2 separate regions of the Homo sapiens genome follow, and region 1 is linked to region 2. The links are contacts of gene promoters, found by promoter capture Hi-C in human tissues and cell types (Jung and others, 2019). All regions are on one chromosome and are shown on one strand. Each heading gives the region's core, a stretch centred on a gene start or on the middle of the fragment in contact. The rest is flanking DNA. Distances are from core to core; before and after follow the strand shown.

The links. Contacts are between HindIII fragments. The study calls those that stand out against the background at their distance.
Region 1: a contact is called between a fragment that was not itself captured here and the fragment with the promoter of KATNAL2 in region 2, in 1 of the 25 tissues and cell types used here (lymphoblastoid cells).

The regions. Positions count from the first base shown.
Region 1 is chr18:46,226,499-46,232,736 of GRCh38, reverse strand. The region is part of intron 2 of ARK2N (arkadia (RNF111) N-terminal like PKA signaling regulator 2N); the gene reads right to left. Among named protein-coding and RNA genes, the nearest start is that of ARK2N, 56 kb to the right of the region's middle. The HindIII fragment of the contact is 6,789 bases long and covers 1-5,730 here.
Region 2 is chr18:46,914,283-46,919,925 of GRCh38, reverse strand. It overlaps KATNAL2 (katanin catalytic subunit A1 like 2), which reads right to left and starts at 2,324. Exons shown (of 18, transcript NM_001387690.1): 1 at 2,000-2,324. It overlaps PIAS2 (protein inhibitor of activated STAT 2), which reads left to right and starts at 2,419. Exons shown (of 14, transcript NM_004671.5): 1 at 2,419-2,604. The coding sequence starts at 2,581. RefSeq lists enhancers at 10-762, 2,270-3,023 and silencers at 2,160-2,899, 2,970-3,049. The HindIII fragment of the contact is 6,925 bases long and covers 1-5,027 here.

The DNA of each region.
Region 1 (6,238 bases), core at 1,087-3,586, 690 kb after region 2:
TATTTTACACTGTGGTAATTTAATACAACATGAGAATATCTACTCAATACTAGCAAACAAACAGTTTGGTTGCAACTTCCACTAACTTTCCTAAACTTCAGAGGAAATAAAAATAGAAATCGGGGGAAAAATGAGTAAAGAAACTTGGAAGTTATTCCCTGTTACTTACAATTCACAATCTCGTAACTTCTAAACAAATTAAAATGACATGTTTTTTATCTGTACTAGGATTAAGGGCATATGGTATTTTTGAAGAGGATTTTGAGAAAAAAAATTTACTGAAATTGTTTTGACACTGTATTTTCTGACATGTGGCATTCCACAAAATCTTTTTCATTTCACCCTCACTGTACTATTTAAATAATTTTTTAAAAGGGGAGATGAAAATCAACATAAGCTAAATAAAATATAAAAGGTACAATTAATTTAAAAGGCTACCTTTTTGTAAGATAACTTGCCCATAATTTGCTATTTTAAACAAATGATAACACAAAGCCTGTTTGCCATCTTTCTTATAACATTCATGTAACTGTATACCTTTAGGCAAAGTCAGCTATATGTTAAAAATAAAAATTACCAGTAATATCAATTTAGGGTACTTTGGTTAAAAAAGAATTCACTATATTGTTTCTTTCATTAACAAGCAGACTTAATACACTTTAAATCATTCTGCATACAACTTTTAAGAAATAAATCAGACTGAGCGCTGTGGCAGCACTCTGGGGGGCCAAGACGGATGGACCACCTGAGGTCAGGAGTTCGAGACCAGCCTGGCCAACATGGTGAACCCCTATCTCTACTAAAAATACAGAAAATTAGCCGGGCATGGTGGCAGGCGCCTATAATCCCAGCTACTCGGGTAGCTGAGGCAGGAGAATCACTTGAACCTGGGAGGTGGAGGTTGCAGTGAGCCGAGATCATGCCATTGCACTCCAGCCTGGGCAACAAGAGCAAAACTCTGTCTCAAAAAAAAACAAAAAACAAAAAACAAAAAAAAAAAGAAAGAAAAATCGTATGTAAATTGAGATATACCTAGACCCAGAGACTCTTGCTGTTAAATCTTAGTAACAGCAGGGAATGACAAAAGCAATACTCAAAATAAATTAGTTACTGTATATTCTTCTATTCGGTCTGCTAGTGAGATTTAAAAAAAAAAAAAAAAAAAAAAAAGCCCCAAACCTTTAATCATTTTTAAAAAGACATTTTTTCTCAAGCTTAATTACCATAACTAGGTTTATATGTAGGCAACTTTTATTTTCTTACATACCTTTAGGAAGCAATAAACAGGTATTATATTAATAATCTGAATCCATTCGAAATCACTGTAGCAACTGTACAGTTATCTGCCTCCAGCCATTTGTCAAGTCTAATATTAATGAAATTCAGTTACTTCAGAATTCTGAAGATGGGTACACACATGCATACACACATCCCTGAAACCAGGCTAATTTCTCTTAGTAAAAATCCATACAAACAAAAAACAGATAACACTTTCCCTTGGAGCCCTCCAAATAATTTGTATGCTACTCCTAATTTTTAAAAAAGTAAAACTTCATGTAAAATATTAAGCCTTAAGATTTTAACTTGACCTTGTTGGGCTCTAAATTAAAATTTTATGTGGGCTTTAAAAATTATGCTCAATTTTAATAATGTACAAAAAGTACAATCAATATGATTAAGAGAGTTATTATTGTCTAATAAGTGGCTCAAATAACCAGATCACTCTAATCCGCTGGTTGAATTCTCTTAAGATGATTAGATATCTAATGTCCTAGGACTGAGCTAGCACAAACTAGGCAGAAAGCAGGCTGTAGCTAGATTATCAAAAACACATTTACCTTTAGTGAGAGGATAATGGCCTCTTAAATGCCAACTAAAAAGAAACACTAAAAGGAAGTATCAACATGTAACAACCAGTAATAAAATTATAACTGTGGTAGTTAAAACTATAATTTGTTTCCTAACATTTCTCAAGTTATTCTTTTTACAACATTCGGCGATTTTTTAAATGAAGTAACTTTTTTAAAAGTCTGCAGCTTAATCCTTTTAATTCTCTCCCATGAAAACAAGAGAAAAAAATTATCTGATAGATTAGACAAAGGGAAAATTCCATATGCACATATTAGAGAGATACAATAGTCCGGATATGGGATTTTATTCTTAAATAAAAAAGCATTTCAACCATTTCTGGATTAGTGTTGTAGGTTGAAAGAGATTTCTTTCCAGCATTAACCCTTCATAGAGTACAAATAAATACAAACAGGACATGGTCCTTAACCTTCTTAAAATTCTAGGAAAATTAAGGGAATTCAGAGGAAACGAAGGGAGGGCCACTAGGGACTTAAACAATAGCTACATAAAAATGCCGTCATGTAATCCAAAAGTAATTCCCACTTATTACTATTATTAGTACTATACATGTAATCTTGAGAATACAGACTGCCTCAGGGAAAGAGAATGCAATAACCTACACTAGTCATGTAAAAAATGTACATATTAAAACTACTTCACAGGCCAGGCGCGGTGCCTCACGCCTGTAATCCCAGCACTTTGGGAGGCTGAGGCAGGCAGATCACCTGAGGTCAGGAGTTTGAAACCAGCCTGGCCAGTATGGTGAAACCCCATCCCTACTAAAAATACAAAAATTAGCCGGGCCAGTTGTGGGCACCTGTAATCCCAGCAACTCAGTAGGCTGAGGCAGGAGAATCGCTTGAACCCAGGAAGTGGAGGTTCAGTGAGCCAAGATCGTGCCATTGCACTATAGCCTGGGCGACAAAGCGAGACTCTGTCTCAAAAACAAACAAACAAACAAACAAAAAACACTACTTCACAAGGCGAGGCGTGGTGGCTCGTACCTGTAATCCCAGCACTTTGGGAGGCCGAGGCTGGGGGATCCCTTGAGCTTAGGAGTTTAAGACCAGCCTGGGCAACAGAGCAAGACCCCACCTTTGCAAAAAATAAGAAAATTAGCCAGACATGGTGGCACACATTTGCGGTCCCAGCTACTAGGGAAGATCACTTGAGCCTGGGAGGTTGAGGGTGCAGTGAGCTGTGATCGTGCCACTGCACTCCAGCCTGGGCAATAGAGCGAGACCTCATCTCAAAAAAATTAAAAAAACAACACCAGCACTTTGGGAGGCTGAGGCAGGCGGATCATGACGTCAGGAGATCGAGACCATCCTGGCTACAGTGAAACCCTGTCTCTACTAAAAATACAAAAAATTAGCCGGGCGTGGTGGCAGGCACCTGTAGTCCCAGCTACTCAGGAGGCTGAGGCAGGAGAATGGCATGAACCCGGGAGACGGAGCTTGCAGTGAGCTGAGATCGCGCCACTGCACTCCAGCCTGGACGACAGAGCGAGACTCTGTCTCAAAAAACAACAAGTACTTACCATATTGACACTTTTTTAAATGTCTGTAATATAAAAACAAAGTATGTTGAAAGGGGAATTTTTTAATTGCACTACCTGGAAAAGGTGTAACCACTTTAAAGCAAAATCTATTTTTTTTTTTCAAAACAACACTCCTTCAGACAGCAATGTATTACCTTCAAAGCACTCTGCAAAAACTGAAAATCAAGATAAAAATTTTTCATATATATGATTCTGTTATAAATTACTCCTAAAGTTAAACTCTCCAAACCACAGAATGTCAAATTTTACTTTAGGAAAAATTTTTAATATTTTGGTATAGGTTCTAAGAATTTAATCAGTGTATTCTGGCATTCCTTATCTTTCTGCCAAAACTTCTTTTTCTTCCTTTCCTCAAAATTTTGTAGAAAAGGCTTTCCAAAATTATTAGTGTTCAACACCTTTTCAAATATTCAAAATGTTATTCTTACCTTGAATATAACTATTAATACCTATGTTTTAGGCCAGGTGCGAATCCCACAGAATCTCAGCACTTTGAGAGGCCAAGGTGTGCAGATCGCTTAAGCCCAGGCGTCTGAGGCCAGCCTGAACAACATAACAGAACCCCGTCCCTACAAAATATATAAAAATTAGCCAGGTGCTAGTCCCACCTATTTGGGAGGCTGAGGCGGGAGGATTGCTTGAACCTGGGAGGCAGAGGTTACAGTGAGACAAGATGGCACCTCTGCACTCCAGTGTAGATGACAGAGTGAGACCCTATCTCCCAAAAAATAAAAAAGGCTACCTATGTTTGTTAATTCCATTCCACTGAAATTTTTTTCTTAAAGGCAAAAAAAAATCTACAGAGCTCTTGCCTGATTATTCAATAACAATAAAAATCAGAATGGATCCAGTCAATACAATACTAGCAATAAGTTGTCTATGTTATTCTTAAAAGATTAACCTTTTCTATCTTAAAATGCATTTCAAAGCATGCTTAATATATTAATTATCGTATCATAAAACAAAAAAGAAGCCTGTTAAGTGCTTGAAGCAGTTTACACATGCATAGAAAAGTAGTCCTTAACATGATGAAATTAAATTAATATTTTCTTACATCTAAAAATCCATGTCTAATAAAAATCTGGGTTTCCAGGAAGAAGGTGAAGACAGAACTTCCCTGAAAACACCTAAACTTCAAGTAAAGACTGTAGATTCATTAAAATTCAGTCAGTCATCCAAAACCAATATGCTCTTCCTGTTGATGTAAAACTTAATTTTAAAAAAAATCTGTTTGAGGAAATAGTTAACCAATGTTGCACTATAATTTCAGAGGGAAACCCATCAGTTATAATAAACTCATATATTTTATACTGAAAAATCATACTAACATTATTTATTGTAAGTTGCTTGGTGTTCAAACCTTACCTCTACTGGTCAAAATTAAGTTCAGAAAATCTAAAAATCATTACACACAAAAAAAAGAGATCGGCCAGGCACAGTGGCTCACGCCTATAATCCCAGCACTTTGGGAGGCTGAGGCAGGCAGATCACCTGAGGTTGGGAGTTCAAGACCGGCCTGACCAACATGGAGAAACCCCATCTCTACTAAAAATACAAAAATTAGCCAGGCATGGTAGCACATGCTTGTAATCCCAACTACTTAGGAGGCTGAGGCAGGAGAATCACTTGAACCTGGGAGGCGGAAGTTGCAGTGAGTCGGGTTCGTGCCATTGCATTCCAGCCTGGGCAACGAGAGCAAAACTCCATCTCAAAAAATGGAAAAAAAAAATGCAGAGACCTCTAGTCATATGTATATATTTATATATGTATCCTTATACAAGGATGTATATATCCCTAAACAAAAACTGAGCACAGAAATAAGCCATCCCCAAAGTTAACTTCCAATTCTCATAAAACCAGTTCTAAAAGGAAAAAAACAAATAAAGCAGTAATTTTTCAATTCAAAACCAGAAAAGGAAAAAATGTGGTTCAGTCTATTACTGGTAATTTACAAGTTACAAATATGTGGATATAGAACTGAATTAAAACAAAGTGGTGACATTTTTTCTGAGTAACGTTCCTAAGAAATATTGAGACATCGAAGATCTTGATTGTTTATATACGACTCTAAATATACCGCCTATACTTCCTCTTAAAAAACACATGCAGAATTACGTTTTTTTCCAAAGTGGCAACTTCATTAAATAAAATGAACCTTTTTCATATTGATGTTATTATAAATGTGAAAGAATAATTTCCTCTCAAAAATAAATCCAGGCCAGGCGCAGTGGCTCATGCCTGTAATCCCAACACTTTGGGAGGTGGAGGTGGGTGGATCACCTGAGGTCAGGAGTTCGAGATCAGCCTGGCCAACATGGTGAAACCCCCATCTCTACTTAAAATACAAAAATTAGCTGGGCATGGTGGCAGGCGCCTGCAATCCCAGCTACTTGGGAGGCTGAGGCAGGAGAACTACTTGAACCCCGGAGGCAGAGGTTGCAGTGGGCCAAGATCCCACCATTGCACTCCAGCCTGGGCAACAAGAGCGAAACTCCATCTCAAAAAAAAAAAAAAAAAAGTAAATCCAGTGGAAAACCCAGTTTTAAAAAACCACTTAGTGTCAGCAAACTTACAAATTCCTATTGAAGACTGTCATCCTAATTTAGCTGTGTCTCACAGTATTACTAGAAATCTTTAAAAGATAAAATGCCAGCATTTACCAATCCCAGGCTGCACATAAAAACATCTATCATGTTGCAAGACCTTCAATCCTGTGGTATTTTCTATCTTTTGACACACTCTATGAGCTCTTTAACATAACTAAGGCCCATTTATTTTTAGTTTGAGGATTGAAAACAAAATTAAACTGGTAGTACATTCATTAAT
Region 2 (5,643 bases), core at 1,075-3,574:
CAGTGGCATTCACTTAAAGCCTACTAAACAATGTTAAATTCTACTGAGGTGTAAATCAAGGTCTACGGAGAATAAATCAAGAGTAAGAATAAGCCAAGCGAAGATCACAAAGTTAATGGTGGAGAGACAGATTTAGAACCTGGACATTGTTCATTCATTCCTTTATTCATTAAACAAATACAAGGCCAACTATTTGTTAGGCATTTATCAGCCATTATAGTCTAGTGGGTTTACAATTTTTTAACATAAAATTTTAAAATAATAATTTTTATTTTTTGAGACAAAGTCTCACTCTGTTGCCCAGGCTGGAGTGCAATGGTGCGATCGCAGCTCACTGCAACCTCCACCTCCTGGGTTCAAGCAATTTTCCTGTCTCAGCCTCACGAGTAGCTGGGATTACAGGCATGTGCCACCACACCCGGCTAATTTTTTTTTTTTTGAGATGGAGTTTCGCTTTTGTTGCCCAGGCTGGAGTGCAATGGCGCTATCTCCGCTCCCTGGAACCTCCGCCTCCAGGGTTCAAGCGATTCTCCTGCCTTAGTCTCCGGAGTAGCTGGGATTACAGGAATGCGCCACCACGCCTGGCTAATTTTGCATTTTTGGTGGAGACGGGGTTTCTCCATGTTGGTCAGGCTGGCCTCCAACTCCCAACCTCAGGTGATCCGCCCGCCTCTGCCTCCCAAAGTGCTGGAATTTAGAGCGTGGGCCACAGCTCCTGGCCTAATTTTTGTATTTTTAGTAGAGACAGGGTTTCACCATGTTGGCCTGGCTGGTCTGCAACTCCCGACCTCAAGTGATCCACCTGCCTCGGCTTCCTAAAGTGCTGGGATTACAGGCATGAGCCACTGCACCTGGCCAAAACAATATGTGTGTGTGTTGTGTATATATACACAACACACACACACACACACACACACATATATATATATACACGCACACACATATATATCAAATAAACAATTACACAAATACCTACATAATTACCATGGAGACATCTCAGGAAGAAAAAGTTCAGGGTCCTAGGAGAGGTCATAACAGGGGAATTTGAATTAAAATGTGGGATGTGGGTGAGGGATGGTCTTCCTGAGGAAGTGACACTTAAAGTGAAACCTGAAGGATGAACAGGAGTTAGGAACAAAGAAGAGAGTGGGAAATTATTCTTGGTTCAAGGATCAACATTTAGAAGCCTTAAAACTTGAGGGGAGGCCGGGTGCAGTGGCTCACGCCTGTAATCTCAGTACTTTGGGAGGCCGAGGCGGGCGGATCACCTGAGGTCCGGAGTTGGAGACCAGCCTGACCAACTTGGAGAAACCTCGTTTCTACCAAAAATACAATCGCAGCTACTCGGGAGGCGGAGGTAGGAGAATCGCTTGAACCCGGGAGGCAGACATTGCGGTGAGCCGAGATCGTGCCATTGCACTCCAGCCTGGGCAACAAGAGCAAAACTCCGTCTCAAAAAAACAAAACTTGCGGGGTGCGGGGGCAGGGGAGTGGAAGGAAGACCTGGAAGTGCAGTGCGGATGAAACGAGGGGTAGTGGGAAGAGGCGGTAGGTAGGAGGCTGATTAAACAGGGCCTTAAAAGTTACATTGTTTTAAAGACCTCTCGTGTGTGGGTTCCACCCAATTCTTCAAGGAAATTGAACCCTGGACACCGTCCAGCGATTTTTCTGGCCATCTTGACTCAGCATCTTCCTTCATCCTATATCAGCACATTACGGGGGGGCCATCAAGCTTCCTTCTATCTACTTACTCTGCCTTGGCGTTTGACTCCTTCCTAGCTATCAGATTTCCCCGACTTTTTAGCATGGCCCTTCTGAGCGCTCTTATTTCACTTCTCCCCGCCCCCAACCCCACCGCCTAACTCTCCCAACTCTGCAGTCCGTGACCTTCAGGTGCCCTTCAAGGTCAGAAAAACTCGGCAAGGTTGGTACTTGCAGGACATTAGCAATTCAAAGAGGTGTCACACAACCTCACCATTAGATGGGAACAATAGCTTACCCAACACCCATATTTAGATTATTCCGCCACAACTACTCTGGGGGATGGTTTTATTTGCGGCGGCTTTCTCCGTCCATAGGCACCGCGTGAAGGGCACCGTAAGAATCTTCCCGAATGCTCCTGTCACGCGTCCCGGCCGCCTCTTCTTCCTCCCCGCCACTTCCCGAGGCCAGGCCCGCGGATAACGCCTCAGTTGCGACCCAGCTCTAGGCAGTCCGCAGGGGCCTCCGCCGGGGAGGGAAGGCACGACCTGGGGCCGAGCGGGGCCAAGCCGCGGGGCAGCACGCCGGGGCAGGCGCGGGCGGGCGCTGTCGCCGCGCGGACTGAAGGCGCGGGCGGAAGGCGGTCGCGCGGGTGGGCAGGGGGCACCGCTAGGGGCGGGGCTTCGGCGCGTCGGAGGCGGAGCTCCCGCGCCGTTCACGTGACGGGCCCGGCTGTAGCGGCGGCGGCCGCGGCGTCTTAAGCGGCGCCCAGTGCAGGATGGTGCTGGAGGCGGCGGCGGCCGTGGTGGCGGCAGCGTCGTTGGCGGCAGCGGGAGTGGGTGCGGCGGCAGCGGCGGCGGCGCCCGCGGGTGGTATAAAATGGCGGATTTCGAAGAGTTGAGGGTAAGCGGGAGTGGAGAGCGGAGGCCGCGGGGGAGGGGATGGGAGAGGAGGTGGGGAAACCGCAACGTCGCCGGCCGCCGCCTGCTCGTGCCTCTGGGGCCGGTTGGCGGAGCCCTGAGCCCCGGCCCGCGGACGAACGGGCGCCGAGGGCGCGGGGGAGGGGAGCGGGCCGGCGGAGGGCACGCGGGCGGCGCGGGGGCGGCGGGCCTGGGCCGCGGCGAGCCGGCTCCTGAGTGCTGCCAGTGGTCCGCACACCTGGCGCGGGGGGTCGGGGCGCCCTCCAGGAGGGGCACATGGGGACCCGACATCCCGGTTCGCAGTGAGGGCCGATGTGGGAAGCAACGTTTGATCTTGCACCTTCACCGGGGTGTACGTGTCTGTGGCTATTCACAAGTCTGCATGCTACTCACTTGGTGGAGGACTGTTTTCTGAAAGCTGAAGTTGCGTTTAGGAATCTCTCCTCTTCTTATGGCTGATGCTACCGTTTAGTCAGGTCTGTCACGAGAAAAGGCCCCTTCTCCCACCCTTGCCTCCTAACATCTTCGAGGAACCTAATGTTTGGGGATCCCTGCCTTCAATAATCGGCCTTAAACCTCGATATTTTCTTAGTGTTTTAGTAAGAAATCTGCAAAGTCTATGTTGTGAGGTTTGTGCACCCCTTTTACTCTTGAGGAAAAATATTTTTTTCTTCTCAGTCTTAAAACAAGATCATAACTTTATTGTTGATACCCTTGTATAGCAGAGGTCTGGAATAGGGCTGTGATGGGGGTAGAACAGAAGAGACTTTTTCCCCCCAGACTGATAACCTTTAAAGTCCTAACTAAGTGTGACGAATGAGATGGATTTGTGTGTATCGCTGAATTACTGGCGACATAAATGAGATGTTTACGGACAGAAACCCTGATTTTTTTTTTTTTTAAATGTATCAAGGTAGAGATGAGTGTAAACTTGAAATTACATTTACTGCAACTCGTTTGTGTAACACTTATGATATTAGGATTTCTTTTTCAAATAAGGAAGAGGAATCCGGTAAAAGGTTCAGTTTTGTATATTTATTGTTTTCCGCAAGAGATGGGATGGGGGAAGGATGTTGGCTGGTTACCTGCTTAGTGGACGTGAGCAAAAGAACGTATCCTCTGCTCTAAACGGAGATTGTTGGAGTTTGCACAGTGCCTGCCATATTCCCTCCTGCTGTTTCAAAAATAATTATTAAGTTCCCAGTAAACACATATTAATACATGTTATGCCCCATACTAGTTTATGCAGAGAACCATAAGTGTAGGTAAAGGGTGTTCATACTTGATAAGTTTAAGGGTTTTAGTGGCTCAGAGCCCCAGCTGTAGAGCTTTTAACACCTGTGGAGCTTTTCAAACAACGAACCCTGAACCTCACCTCTGTAAATTCATGCGTTAGATTTAGGATGGGTTGAGAAGACTGAACTCTGAAGTTATATTTATTTTTACCTGCCATTTTTAATTTTTGTGTAGTAACAGATGTATACAAGTTTTCTAAGTTCTTTTTTTTTTTTTTGTTAATGAAAACTTTCCAGGATTTTTATTAGACTCTTGTGAATGTTGTTGGCCAAAGCTTAATGTAAAGCGAAGAATTTACTCGCTCTTATAGAGCAGAGTAAAAGCAGTCAGTGCTCAGATTGGAGTGCAACCAGCAACTGGAAAGTGATAGAAACCAAAGAAGCTTTTTTTTCTCTTCCTTTCTGCCTTCCTCTCTGTTTTGGTTTGTGGATCAGCTTCATCCTCTTTTCCTGTAAATCAGCTGTCTTTACTTCTTGCATTTTTAGAAGATGGCCCCTCTCCCACAATTCATATGACGTGCCCAACAGAGACTAACTGGGGAGAATTTTCAGAGGAGTGAGGGGTGCAGGCTGGGCACATGCAGTAAGCATCATCTGCTTTTCTTTGCCTTAACTGCTCTGTGCAGACCCATGTTACCCTACACTTGAAGATGAACTGTACCCCGCCCTTACATCCCATTACAGACAGTAATGATGATGATGGTATATACCCATTTTAATATAGTGGTTATTCCATGCCTGGTTCTGGTCTAAGCATTTTTTCTATACTTATTTAATTCTCACAATTTTTTCAAGAAATTGAAGCACAGAGAGGTTAACCTGACCTAAATCACACAGCTTGAGATTTGAAAAGCTAAGATTTTTAATCTTAGACATGTAGCTTTTAGAGTCTGGGCTTTTCAGAGCCCGGGCTACACTACTTTGTTCTGGTACCTTGGGGTCTAGGTGGAGCTTCTAGCCATCATCCTGCGATTGCTCCTAAATTAAATGATTGGTAACATCCTTCTTGTGTGACATTATAATAAAGGAAGAAAAACAGACTAAAAAACGGAATAGAAAGAAAGAAAAGGGGAAGAAATAATCTTGGATTCTCAAAATGATGGTCCTTGGATCAGAATATATTGTGGTGGTCAGAGTGATGCTCAAGTAAATTATAGGACCAGGAAAAATTTTGGGCATTAGTTTGTTGGCTAACTTCTTGGCAGTAGAGAAATTGGTCAGCCGATCTGGATGCCACATATTTGGCTGCTGATATGCCACAGAGAGGATTTCCATTACCCTTCAAGGCTACTCATTTTGGACAAGTATAACCAGAGCAGTTCATATCCTGGCTAGTGCTGCATCTATACTGGAGATAGGGAATTTTGGGAAAGGTAATCCTCAGTGTGGTTTGGTGACCCTGGTGCCTTTGCTTTTCAGACTTGTGTGTCGGGGGTGGAGTTGGGGGGGGGAGGGTTGGTTATTCGATTAGGCAACTGTTAAGGGGGTCGCCTGACTATTTCAGTTTTGGAGACTGCTGCGTGAGCCAGTACCAGAGATCTTGGCTGGTCATAGCAGAATATGGCAGCTCTATACCTTGTTGCCTTTCAGTCCGGGTGACCAGAATACCAGCCCACCTCTCTTCCAGTTCTTCTGGGAGAGAGAATCTGATTGGCTGAGTTTAGGTCTCTACTTCTGTTCTAATCATCCATAGCCGGGGGCTTAGAGTCAAAGCACACAAACCTGAT